Regions from separate parts of the Homo sapiens genome. Here all the other regions are linked to region 2. Evidence: promoter capture Hi-C in 16 types of primary human blood cells and fetal thymus (Javierre and others, 2016). All regions are on one chromosome and are shown on one strand. Each heading gives the region's core, a stretch centred on a gene start or on the middle of the fragment in contact. The rest is flanking DNA. Distances are from core to core; before and after follow the strand shown. Region 1 overlaps KLF9 (KLF transcription factor 9). Region 2 holds the start of ANXA1 (annexin A1). Region 3 overlaps TRPM3 (transient receptor potential cation channel subfamily M member 3).

Evidence for each region. The method cuts DNA at HindIII sites, captures the fragments that hold promoters and counts their contacts. A CHiCAGO score of 5 or more calls a contact.
Region 1: a fragment that was not itself captured here is called in contact with the fragment with the promoter of ANXA1 in region 2 in 1 of 17 cell types (total CD4 T cells); the score reaches 5.1 in total CD4 T cells.
Region 3: a fragment that was not itself captured here is called in contact with the fragment with the promoter of ANXA1 in region 2 in 3 of 17 cell types (non-activated CD4 T cells, activated CD4 T cells and naive CD8 T cells); the score reaches 6.7 in non-activated CD4 T cells.

Annotation. Positions count from the first base shown.
Region 1 is chr9:70,391,851-70,395,584 of GRCh38, forward strand. All of the region lies in intron 1 of KLF9 (KLF transcription factor 9), which reads right to left. LOC124900273 (a long non-coding RNA gene) reads right to left here. Exons shown (of 2, transcript XR_007061576.1): 2 at 1,207-3,734. Among named protein-coding and RNA genes, the nearest start is that of KLF9-DT, 20 kb to the right of the region's middle. The HindIII fragment of the contact is 782 bases long and covers 1,771-2,552 here.
Region 2 is chr9:73,149,634-73,153,423 of GRCh38, forward strand. It overlaps ANXA1 (annexin A1), which reads left to right and starts at 2,232. Exons shown (of 13, transcript NM_000700.3): 1 at 2,232-2,291. RefSeq lists a cis regulatory region at 1-190. The HindIII fragment of the contact is 9,458 bases long and covers 1-3,790 here.
Region 3 is chr9:70,562,062-70,565,902 of GRCh38, forward strand. The region is part of intron 22 of TRPM3 (transient receptor potential cation channel subfamily M member 3); the gene reads right to left. Among named protein-coding and RNA genes, the nearest start is that of KLF9, 150 kb to the left of the region's middle. The HindIII fragment of the contact is 5,245 bases long and covers 1-3,841 here.

The DNA of each region.
Region 1 (3,734 bases), core at 912-3,411, 2.8 Mb before region 2:
TTGTCTGCATATAGTTTTATTGGAAACAGCCATGCTCATTGGTTTAAGTATTATCTACAGCTGCATTCTCAAAACAGCAGTGTTGAGCAGTTGCCCACAGAGACTGTACAGCCTGCAAAGCTGAAAATATTTACTATCAGGACCTTTTGCAAAAAGTTGGTTGATTCCTGATCTCAATCAAAAGACTTGAAGCTGGGTGTGGCGTTGCACACCTATAATCCCAGCTACTGGGGATGAGGCATGAGAATCGCTTGAACCCGAGGGGCGGAGGTTGTGGTGAGCCAAGATCACGCCACTGCACTCCAGTCTGGGCAACAGAGTGAGACCCTGTCTCAAGTAAATAAACAAATAACAGAGGACTTGAACTTCTAACTGGCCACCAGAATTTGTAAATTCAAATGTCTTCAGGAGCCAGACACAGGTCGGGGACAGGGTGGGAGCAGGTGCATTCAATCATGGATCATAATGGATTCCATGGTGAACTGAACAGGGTGCTTCCCCTACTTAGAGGCATTCAATTTCAACATTATAAATTATGGTGCCACCCAGTGGTGTGTACGCAGGCTGGATTCTGCTTAGGGACCTACAATTTGTAGCCCTTTGAAAAATCTCCCACCTTTTTAATACAGTGGAGAGTTTGGATCTAACATGCCATGATGTTGAATCTAACATCCCAGCATATAAGTTAATGACAGTCATATAATAAGGTATTATTTAGAAAATGATAGATGTTTTGCACTTAAGAAAGCATGGAATGGGGAAGTCACATGTAGACGAGAACAGAATTAAGGCTGAATGGGACCAGAGATGATCTACAGAGGAGGAGAGGACTGGCCTAGAGAGACGGTCACTCCACCTTCGTCTGGCAGCCTGGGGGAAACCAAGTCAGGCCCTCTCTTTGAGGCTCGGTGCTAAGGTCTAAAGGAGAATGGTCAGCCTTCACGCTGAACAAATCACACAGCAATGCAACTATCAATTAGAGAATCTTTAAACCTGTCTTTAGTATTAATGAGAGAGTTACCATCCTCCTGGGGATAGGGAAAAAAATACCCAACACACTTGTACCACTGCATTATTTCTGGCCTTCACAGGAAAACACACCCAGAGGCAGTGACACAATAAACTCCACTTTACTGGAGCAGAGCTGTTAACAGCACAAGTTTCTCTGAGTTCTCATTATTTATATACCACTCCCCGCCCCTTTCAGTAACAAGCTAAGCACCTCTTGCTGACTGACTCAGCTCAGAGTATAAAATAAATGTGATCAAAAAAGCTACTGAACACTGCGCACAATGTGTAAAAGACTTCCTTTGCAGAGACAGTCATCAGGCCTCCAGAATTCTCCTGGGCCTACGGAGGGTGCAAGAACAGTGGACTGGGGCCCCCTGGCTATGTGCTTGCCTACTTAGCACAAAAGGACACTTGCTGCTTTTGAGAGGGAGCCTCCTCGACTGCTGATTAGTTGATGATGCCAAATGAAGCCCATTTTTTTGTGGGCAGTCCTGAAACGAATGGAGGTGAGTTCTCCATAGAGAAGACAGAGACCGGGTACTTGCCAAGTGCCAAGCTTGCTCACTGGACATAGGCAACCCTCCCCAGACTCCCTGAGCTGTCCAGGCTGCCACTGAAGTCCTGCCTGGGGTCAGGGAGGCCTGCCATCTGAATGTCGTCTCTTTCCTACCTGGTTCTTCTCATCTTCCCTGCCCCACCCAAGTCCAGGGATGGGTCTAACTTTAATGGAGACAGGAAAGTCAAAAATACAAAATCAAAAGCTTCCATTGCATCTAGCAAAAGTAAACCAATCTGGTAAAAAACAAATCTAAGGGATTTAGGCCTCCTTTTCAGAACAGAGCTCAAACAGTGCCAATTAAGAATTAAAGTTTCTTGCAGATGTAGAAAATCAAGACTTCTTCTAGAAGAAAAATAATGCTCAGCCGCTCAAGATGGATCACTTGAACACAGAAGTTCAAGACCAGCCTGGGCAATGTGGTGAAACCCCATCTCTACCAAAAATACAACAAATTAGCCAGGCGTAGTGGTGCTTGCCTGTGGTCCCAGATACTTGGGAGGCTGAGGCGGGAAGATTGCTTGAGCCCAAAGGTTGAGGCTGCAGTGAGCTATGATTGTGCCACTGCACTGCAGCCTGGGTGAGAGTGAGACTGAGACCCTGTCTCAAAAAAAAAAAAAAAAAAAAGAGTGGTTTCTGATTGCAAAAACAGCACTAGGATTCCATAGATAAAAGAAGAATTTGGGCTGGCTGTGGTAGCTCACGCCTGTAATCCCAGCACTTTGGGAGGCTGAGATGGGAGGACTGCTTGAGCCCAGGAGATCAAAACCAATCTGGGCAACACAGTAACACCCCAACTCTACAAAAGAAATGTAATTTTAAAAAGGACAATTTGATATTATTAAATCATACTGATATTATTCCCCCATTTAACAGCTCATACACACACACACACACACACATTTAGTATCATTTAATATCATATACACACTCTTATCGTGTACAAAATAGTATATGATAAAATTGAACAACCATCCCTAATAAAAGCTTTCAGGAAAATAAAATAATTCCTCAGCAGTATAAAAGATCAGCTCTGAAACCTTTCCTCTGCAAGGTCAACAGTAAAATAAAGGTAGTATAACTACTAAAGTCTAGCCCAAAGCATAAATGGACACCCGCTCCCATTGCTATAATTTAACATTTTCCAGGAAATACTAATGAGTGCAATTAGATAAAATAAGAAGTAAATGGTGAGAAGAAGGGGGGGTTATAAAATAAGAATTATTTGCAGTTGACACAACTTTCTCTTTGAAAAAATTCAAGATAACTGAAAAATCTAATCTAAATTAAAGGTGCATTCACAGATGTAACTGTACAAAAGAGCACTGGCTTTCTTATATGCCAGCCATAACCAGTCAGAATAAGCCTAACAATAAAAGTTCAGGACCTTGGTGAAGAAATGCATAAAGCCTCAATATAAAAGAAAATGAACAAACAAAATGCTTGCCATGCCTTTGGATGGTAAGGCTCAATGGTGTGAATATGGCAATTCTGTACAAATTCATCTACGGAATTAACACACACCGTAAGAATTTCTTTTTCTAGAACTTGACAAAGTTATTTCTGAAGTTCATTTGGAAGAATAAACATGCCCAACTTGCCAAGAAAATTTTGCGGAAGAACAAATAATAAGTGAGCACTTGCAATACTAGTTATTAAAATGGATTATTAAAGCTGTAATAATTAAGATAGTGAGATAGCAGCACAGGAAAAGACAAATCAGTGGAACAGAGTAGGGTCTGAAAATAACCTTAAGAATCTATAGGGATTCTGTACATGGTAAATGGGGTATTTCAAATCAGTGAAACAGAAAATGTTTAATTCAGTAAGTGGCTTAGATGTCAGGTAAAAGAAAAAAATTAAATCTTAGTCCCTACCTCATACTTTTCACTCAAATGATTTCCAAATGGGCTATAAATGTAAATGTAAAAAATAAAGCCATAACGATAAAATATAGGTGAGCATTTTTAGAATCCTGGAATAGAGACTTTCTAAACATGAAACCAAAAGCAAAATCCTACTTGAAGGATAGTTTTGAATACGTAAAAATGTTAAACTTCTGCATGTTAAAAATATATATAAGTAGAAAAATTTAAGAATCAAAATAAATTAAAAGAAATTGAAGCATATGACAAAATGTTAAAATCTGTAACACAGAAAGGACTTG
Region 2 (3,790 bases), core at 982-3,481:
AAGTGGAGCCGATGAATCATCATCTTCTAGAAACAGCAAGAGTGGTGAGTCATTTCTCTGGAGTATGTGGCATTTCACCCACAGAAAGCATTTAACCCATGATTATCCCCTCACTGTTAATGATAACATATTTTACTTGTTCTTTTATTTCCATAAATCTACTCGACATTATTATTATGCGGAGAAAAAGATTCTGACAGATTATTCACAGCAATATACCTACATGATTAGTGGCTTTCTTTTTGTGTTATGTTTGGGAGTTTCACTTGCCTTTAGTGTTACAGCTGGAAGTTAATTTTGGAAAAACATTCTTTTCACTTTTTTTTTCTTAATTCTGCTACAATTATCATATTTATTGTTGCTATTTTAGGTTTGCCTATGTATTACAAATCCAAACATATAAAATAATTCCATTCAGTTTATGGCACTGGTAATAGCAGCAACAAAGCAAAATGAGACTATACATGTTTTCTAGGTTGTTATATTTTATAAAAAGTAAGTGGAATTTTTTCTTCATTTCACAAGAGCATCACTGTGCAGGAATGTTCCAATAGTTCCATTACCAGAGTTAGGAATACAAACGCAAATTAAAGAAAAAAAGAAAACCAGATTTTGTATAATCATCTTATTCCTTCTCACCTGATGACATAAATATGGTATTAGAAAGTTAGTCTACATCTGTCAAGATCAATTTGCAATAATATCAATTAACTTAACTTGTTAGCAGGTAACTAATTAATTTTCAACTTACACATATGATAGTAAAAACATATATTGACATTTTCTTAAATATTTAGATTAGATGATCATCCTACTTCAGGATATGTTGACTTCATTGATATTGGCATCGAGCACTTAGAATGTATTATAAAATACTGCCAATCTTTAGAAAGTATTTTCATTAACTTCCTAAACTTCATGTTTTTTATGTGAAATATCTATGAGGAAAAGAGGAAAAAGAACAAACCACTAAATGCAGCATAAATTGAGCCATAATGCTGTGAGATTTTACACCTGTGCACTTTAATGGAAACATCATATAATACTTTGTAGGGTTTAAAGAAGAATGAAAATGAACCACTATGGAAGTTACCAGAACCAATTTTCCTCCATTGGGTGGGAAATTTCTTATGGAATGTGTTCTGTAATAGTTGCTGCTCCATTAATCCTTTCATTTTATAGGTCTAGTTCCTTGTTTTGGTGTTCAACTAGTCTACAATGTCAAAGATGTGTATCAAAATGTATATATAACTGATCTATATTACAGTTTATATATATAGTTCTATGTAACTGACTCTATTTAAAAGAATTAATGTAGATAGGCCTTCTGATGTCAATGCTTTTATTGAATGTCATAATGATCAAATTTTTGGCATTACCTTTGTTCAAAATTTTGAGCCAATCTGGAACTTTATTACTTCTATATTTCTTATTTATAACAACAAGCTATATCTAGGAACAAAAGTCGTTTATTTTTTAAGGCAAGAAAAATATAAATAGAAAATTATTCGGCACTGTGTAATGTTAAAATTTACAAATATATGTTATTTCTCCATTGTCACAAGAATTCTAGTGGGTAGACAACTTAGATAATGCTCCTATATACAAAAGTAAAAACAGCTAGGCATGGTGGCTCACGCCTGTGATTCCAACTCTTAGGGAGACAGAGGCAGGAGGATAGCCTGAGCCCAGGAGTTTGAGACCTGCCTGGGCAATATAACGAGACCCCATTCTCCACAAAAAGCGGGGGAAAAAGACAACAAAACAAAAGTAAAAACAGGTTCAGAAAAATTAAGTATGTCCCTAAAGTCACAGAATAATAAGTGATGGAGGTGGAATTCAAATGTAATATTTTGTTTGTTGGTTTGTTTAGTTTTGAAGGTAACATACTTTTTAGTCTACAACCTATTTAACTACAAAAGTGTGCCAATCACTGGTATTAGGATTGGGGCAGATGTATACTCTGAAAATAAAAGTGCAAAATAAATATCCCATCTGGAAATAAAAGTGCAAAATAAAGAGGGAGGAAAAATCAGCCCTTCCATTTCTTTTCCTTTGTAATGCCAGTTGAATTGGTTTAGTGAGTAGTTTTGCAAGACTTGTTTCACTTTGTTTTTGGACATAGCTGAGCCATGTACTTCAAACAGAAGGCAGCCAATTACTAACTTCTGGTTGCTAGGTGTGGCTTCCTTTAAAATCCTATAAAATCAGAAGCCCAAGTCTCCACTGCCAGTGTGAAATCTTCAGAGAAGAATTTCTCTTTAGTTCTTTGCAAGAAGGTAGAGATAAAGGTAAGTCTTGGTTTTCCTTTTAGTTAGTTTTGGTTGTTTTGAAAACTTTTCTCATCACTATGTTAAATGTTACTGCTTCTACAGGATTTATGGTTAGTTGCATTTAACATGATAAGTCATTCATAAATCTTTCTGTAGAATTACATTGGATATTTATATTTTAGGAATCACAAATTACAATATTTTTGTTCTACTTAGTTAACAAATACAAGTAAAAATAAGATAAGTTTGCTTAATACTGGCTCATTGTACTCTTGGTAAGTTACCATGAGAAAGAAGGGAAGAATGTGCTTTCCCTCTGGTAGCCTTAAAAGAATGTGTTTTTCCTTTCCTTCCCCTTGAAATATTTCTTCCCAAGAGCTGTGTGTTTTACAGAGAAATCGTGATGGGGGCTGCTTTTTGGGGGCAAGAACAAAAGTGATAGGAGTGGGCTGCAGGGAACTGTTTCAAAATAGTAGGACTTTCATAATTTATTTTCTTCTTTTGTAAGGAAAACAAGATAGATTCAGACCTCAAAGTGCTAATCATGCTCTTTGTAATAAACATTTAAAAATATATGTTATATTTGCTTATGCTATTTAAAATAAGAAGGTCCGCTTATTACTTTTTTCATTTAAAGAGGGTGTGGCCACATTCCTTTTCTTGTAGGCTCTGTGTCATATACAGTCTTTTCAAGTGCTGGCTGGAAAACCTAAAAAGAAGGGAAATACTTTCTGGGTAGTGTCAGATACATTATCCTAGGGGAATGTCAGTGAGGCCCTCCAACAGCTATTCCACTTGATTGTTGCATGAGCTAATGGCCATAAAACTCCTTAGAAAAGCACAAAGCAAAACTAAAGAAGAGTATTTACTAGTGTTGGATATATTTGTAAAAGTGAGATTACAAATCATGTATCTGGCTATTTTTTTCTTAAACATGTTCCTTCAAGAATTTTTCTGTTCGTTCATTTTAAATATTTATTAAATGTTCTGATTTCTTATGTTCACTGCTAGCTAATTAACAAGGATGGAATTTTTCTTGCCTTGGTTATATCTAAAAGATTGTAAAAACTTTGAGAAAGCAATGTTGCCCTCTTTCCACAGGAGTATTTTGGTAGCTGTAAGAGAATGCACATTGCAAATGACTCAAATGTGGTAAAATGTTGGTTTCATAATTCTGAAATGGCCTCTTCCCCAAAAGTGACAGTAACACCCTAGCTCCAGGCTCAACCACATCCAGCACATAGCCAACATTTAACAGATGTTGACAAAATAGTTAATAATAATATTATTAAGGAACCAGCCAGAGTTTCATGCTTATTAAATACTTTTTCAACCAGAAGGTCTGCAAAGGTTGATTTCTGAATATGACGTTAGCTCTCTCTAGACCTATTAATTTACGACATTTCAAATCAGAGGTAAACCAGCAGACCTATTATTTTTCAATGATAAACTATAAACAGTTTTTTGAAGTCAACTATTTCCTTTTCCTTTAAAATTGGACAGAATTTCATCAGGAA
Region 3 (3,841 bases), core at 1,186-3,685, 2.6 Mb before region 2:
GTCAAATGATACTGATTTTCAACTTGTGACCCTAAATCTTTAAAAATAAATTAAGTTTCTAAAAAATGAGCCAATTTAACAAAAAATATTTAAGAGTAGAACAAAGGTTATAAACTAGTGAATGGGGGTATGTGGTTGACTGAAGTTTGGGAAATGCTGGATTAGATTATCTCTAAACTCCATCTATTCCTGATATTTTGTCACTCCACGATTCCAGGAAAAGGAGCAAAAGACTTGAATTTGCCCCAAACTGAATCATCTATCCCAGGAGCCAACTGTAGGCCACTTGTAGAACCTTAATCTTTTTATTCCTGGTAGAAAAGCAAACTAGCTCCCACTGCATTAAATGGAATTCAGCCCCTACCTGGGGAAAAAAAGGGACCAATGATATAGCCTCCAACTCTTCAGGGCCATCTTGGCTTCTGGTCTATCTGCTATGTGCACACAGTTTCAGCTTTGAGCTATTCAGAACCCACTATTAAGCTCAATGTCTCATTTTTTAATCCAGTAAATTAGCAGGATGTCGCAAATCTAGGTATGTTGTGTGTGTGTTGGGCAGGGGGGAGGTATGGGGGGAAGAGCGTCCTGGGGGAGAAGTGGGGAGAATTCAATTCCCTGTTACTTGGTTCCATGTTCTTCCTATCCTATATATCTAGCTTTACCTGGAAACAAAAATTATTTATTTGAAGAGGGCTTCAAAATTCTAACCTTAGTATTTCATTATTTTGCATCAGGAATTAATATCAGAAATATTTTATGCAAATCTTGCCTTGGAAGAATATATATCTAAACTAGCCTATTGTACACGCCAGTGGGTTTGCTGTCATGATTAGGAGATCGATTGCATTAACAGCCCCAATTTCTCTCCCCTCCCTGGATCCACACTGCTTTGTCATGTGATGTTAGAGTTTCTATCACTAAACAGGTGGGATCTCTTTCTTCACCTCTTGATTCTGAGTTTGGCCATGTGGTTTGCTTTGGTGAATGGAATGTTAGCAAATGTGACCCACACAGAACCTTGGAAAAGCCCTTAATGTTTCTGTTTCCACTTTTTGGCTTCCGCCATTACCATAAGAGACATGCATGAGCTAGCCTGTTGGAGAATGAAACACAGGGAACCTTTGCTTCTAGGTGCTTGTTTTCTGAGCTGAGGCTGTTCTGGAGGAGGTGATAGCCCGCTGACCTCCTGGCAGGTGATTGAGCCCAGCCCAGACCAGAAGAACCATGCAGCCAACTCTCAGTCTTCTGAGCTCAATACGTGCTTATGGCGTTAAGTTCTGAATTCTAGGGTGGTTTTTCCTGTATCATTTTTGTGTTGATAGATACCTGATAAACAAGCTAAATTTCCCTTGCCCTGCTCACAGCTGGAAGAGGTAGCCCTACGTCCTTCAGGCTGACAAAGTCCTTTCCTCATTTCTTCACTTCTCCTTTCACCCAATTCAGGCTACAGATGATTGGAGCAGATTCCACCATTGACCAAGAAGGAGTGAGTTCATTGAATGGCCAGTGACTAATCAGACTCTTTGTGTTTAGAAATAAAACAGAAGTGCAGAGACTTAAGTTAGATGATGGCATGTACTTAAAGAACATATAGAGCCTGACCTCACTGGGTCATGTAAAGCAAGCCATATGAGAGAGGGATGGTGGAGGAAGGGAGAAAGGAAATGGGAGAGAGAGCAAGAGAGAAAGAGAGAAATGATTGATTGATTATTGATTGAGGCAGGAGAGAAGTATAGAGAAAAGCAGATGAGTGTGGTCATGTCTTCTGATTCTGACTTTACAAAACCACTTCTGGTTTTGTTCCCAGTCAGCTCACGCATGTCGTGCTCTGCTTCCTGTCTTTGAATGCCTCTGTGGTTTTCTCTTAGGCACTTACAGTCAGTCTTTATTGAACCTACTCTGTGTAGTTTTGTTTTCTTACAATCAACATTTTTCTCTGGTTGAGAACATAGTCGCTAAGACTTCAGAAGGAATCAGTTTCCTTGCCTAGTAGTTTCATCAGAGAAGGGAGGGGCTGTGAGAAGGGAGAGGGAAGCTCTGGGAAGGGTTAGAAGAATGGAAATAATTGTGTTTAACTCAGTTTTACTCAGGGCTTGCCTCATCATCATCATTACACCTTCCTTTTGATATTTGCATATACGAAATAGGATTAGATAAGTTCTTTCCTTCTTCAAACCAAAACAACAGAAAAATTTCAGAGAAAACATAAAATAAGTTACTCTTTCAGATTTTTGTGTTGCTGTCCACCTACCTATAATTCATCACAACTCCCTGACACGCAACAATACACCTTTCTGAGCAATGAGGGCAGGAGGAGGCACCCCTTCCCCTGTAGGTGAAGGGAGCTGGAGTCCATTCTCATTGCCTTTACTGTGGAAGGTTTTCCCTGTGAGTCCACACTACCTCAGCCTACAGGCCACACACTAAGGAATATGCTTGTTGTTTCTGTTTAAAATGGAATTGTATTACTTTTCAGAAGCCCATGCATATTTAGGGTATTAGAGTATTCAAAGAGGGAAGAGCCAGGGCCCTCTTCAAGAGGGGCCTTCTTAGGAAAAGAACCAGCAACCTCATATCAGGGCTCTCTGTGCCTGGAAGGATCAGTCCAGTGAGCCAGACTGCATGTCTATGTGTAAATGCACATCAGGGGACATGAGGCTACACCACCTCCAAAGAAATAATCTATGGCTCTTGTCGACTCCCATTGCATTGTGCCTGAGGGGTTATATGATATCTACAGAAATGATCAATGTGGCTCCTAATATTCAGGAATGCGTATATAAGCAAATAAGTTCCTGCTGACATTATTTACAAATCCCCTGGTAAGAGACAATGCAAGAAACACATCTGTACTTACAGCTCACGGTTCAGGCTCGAATCTCTCTGATCTGCAGGCACTAATTCCTCTCTGTGCCCTCTGGATCCCAAGCTCTGTTTACTGTTAAAACTTGAGCTTTTCACGCTTCAAGTGATGCTCCTCAAACAACCAAGAATCCAGACAATAGGCAGTCCACATTCCGCTTAGAATCTAAGCAGCTGTTGGCTCTTGTGTTGGGACTATGTGTCCAAATGTATGCTGCATATGAACTGCTAGGAATATGATAAAATAGTTGGGTGACAGCACACCCTTGTATAGTGGGCTAACAACGTTATTCTTTCCCAGAGCAACATTGACACGTCAGTTAAAATACAACAAATAAACATTTTCATCTTGGCAGATTTATCTGTTTTTATTTTTATTTTTTTTTTGAGACAGAGTTTTGCTCTTGTTGCTCAGGCTGGAGTGCAATGGTGTGATCTCAGCTCACTGCAACCTCCAACTCCTGGGTTCAAGTGATTCTCCTGCCTCAGCCTCCCAAGTAGCTGGGATTACAGGCACAAGCTACCATGCCCAACTGATTTTGTATTTTTAGTAGAGACAAGGTTTTGCCATGTTGGTCAGGCTGGTCTCGAACCGCTGACCTCATGTGATCCACCCACCTTGGCCTCCCAAAGTGCTGGGATTACAGGCATGAGCCACTGTGCCCAGCCTAGATTTATCTGTTAAAAAATAATAAACTGAGATACCAATCAAGTGAATTGCGGTGGGGGCGGGGGCGGGCCAAGAGGGAAAGAATAGGCAAGGCACTTTGCTGTTCATCATTTTTTAAATTATATTTTAAATAATCACATTATCCCACATTACTAAATCATTTTGTGAAGTCACTAGACACAAGGCACTAACCTTGGGTAGGTTCAGATTGAGACTTAGATCTGGCATTTTGCCATCTATGTCCTATGGGTAAGTCCTTTGATGTGTCTGAGCCTCAGTGTCCTCATTTCTAAGCCTGACCTAATGATG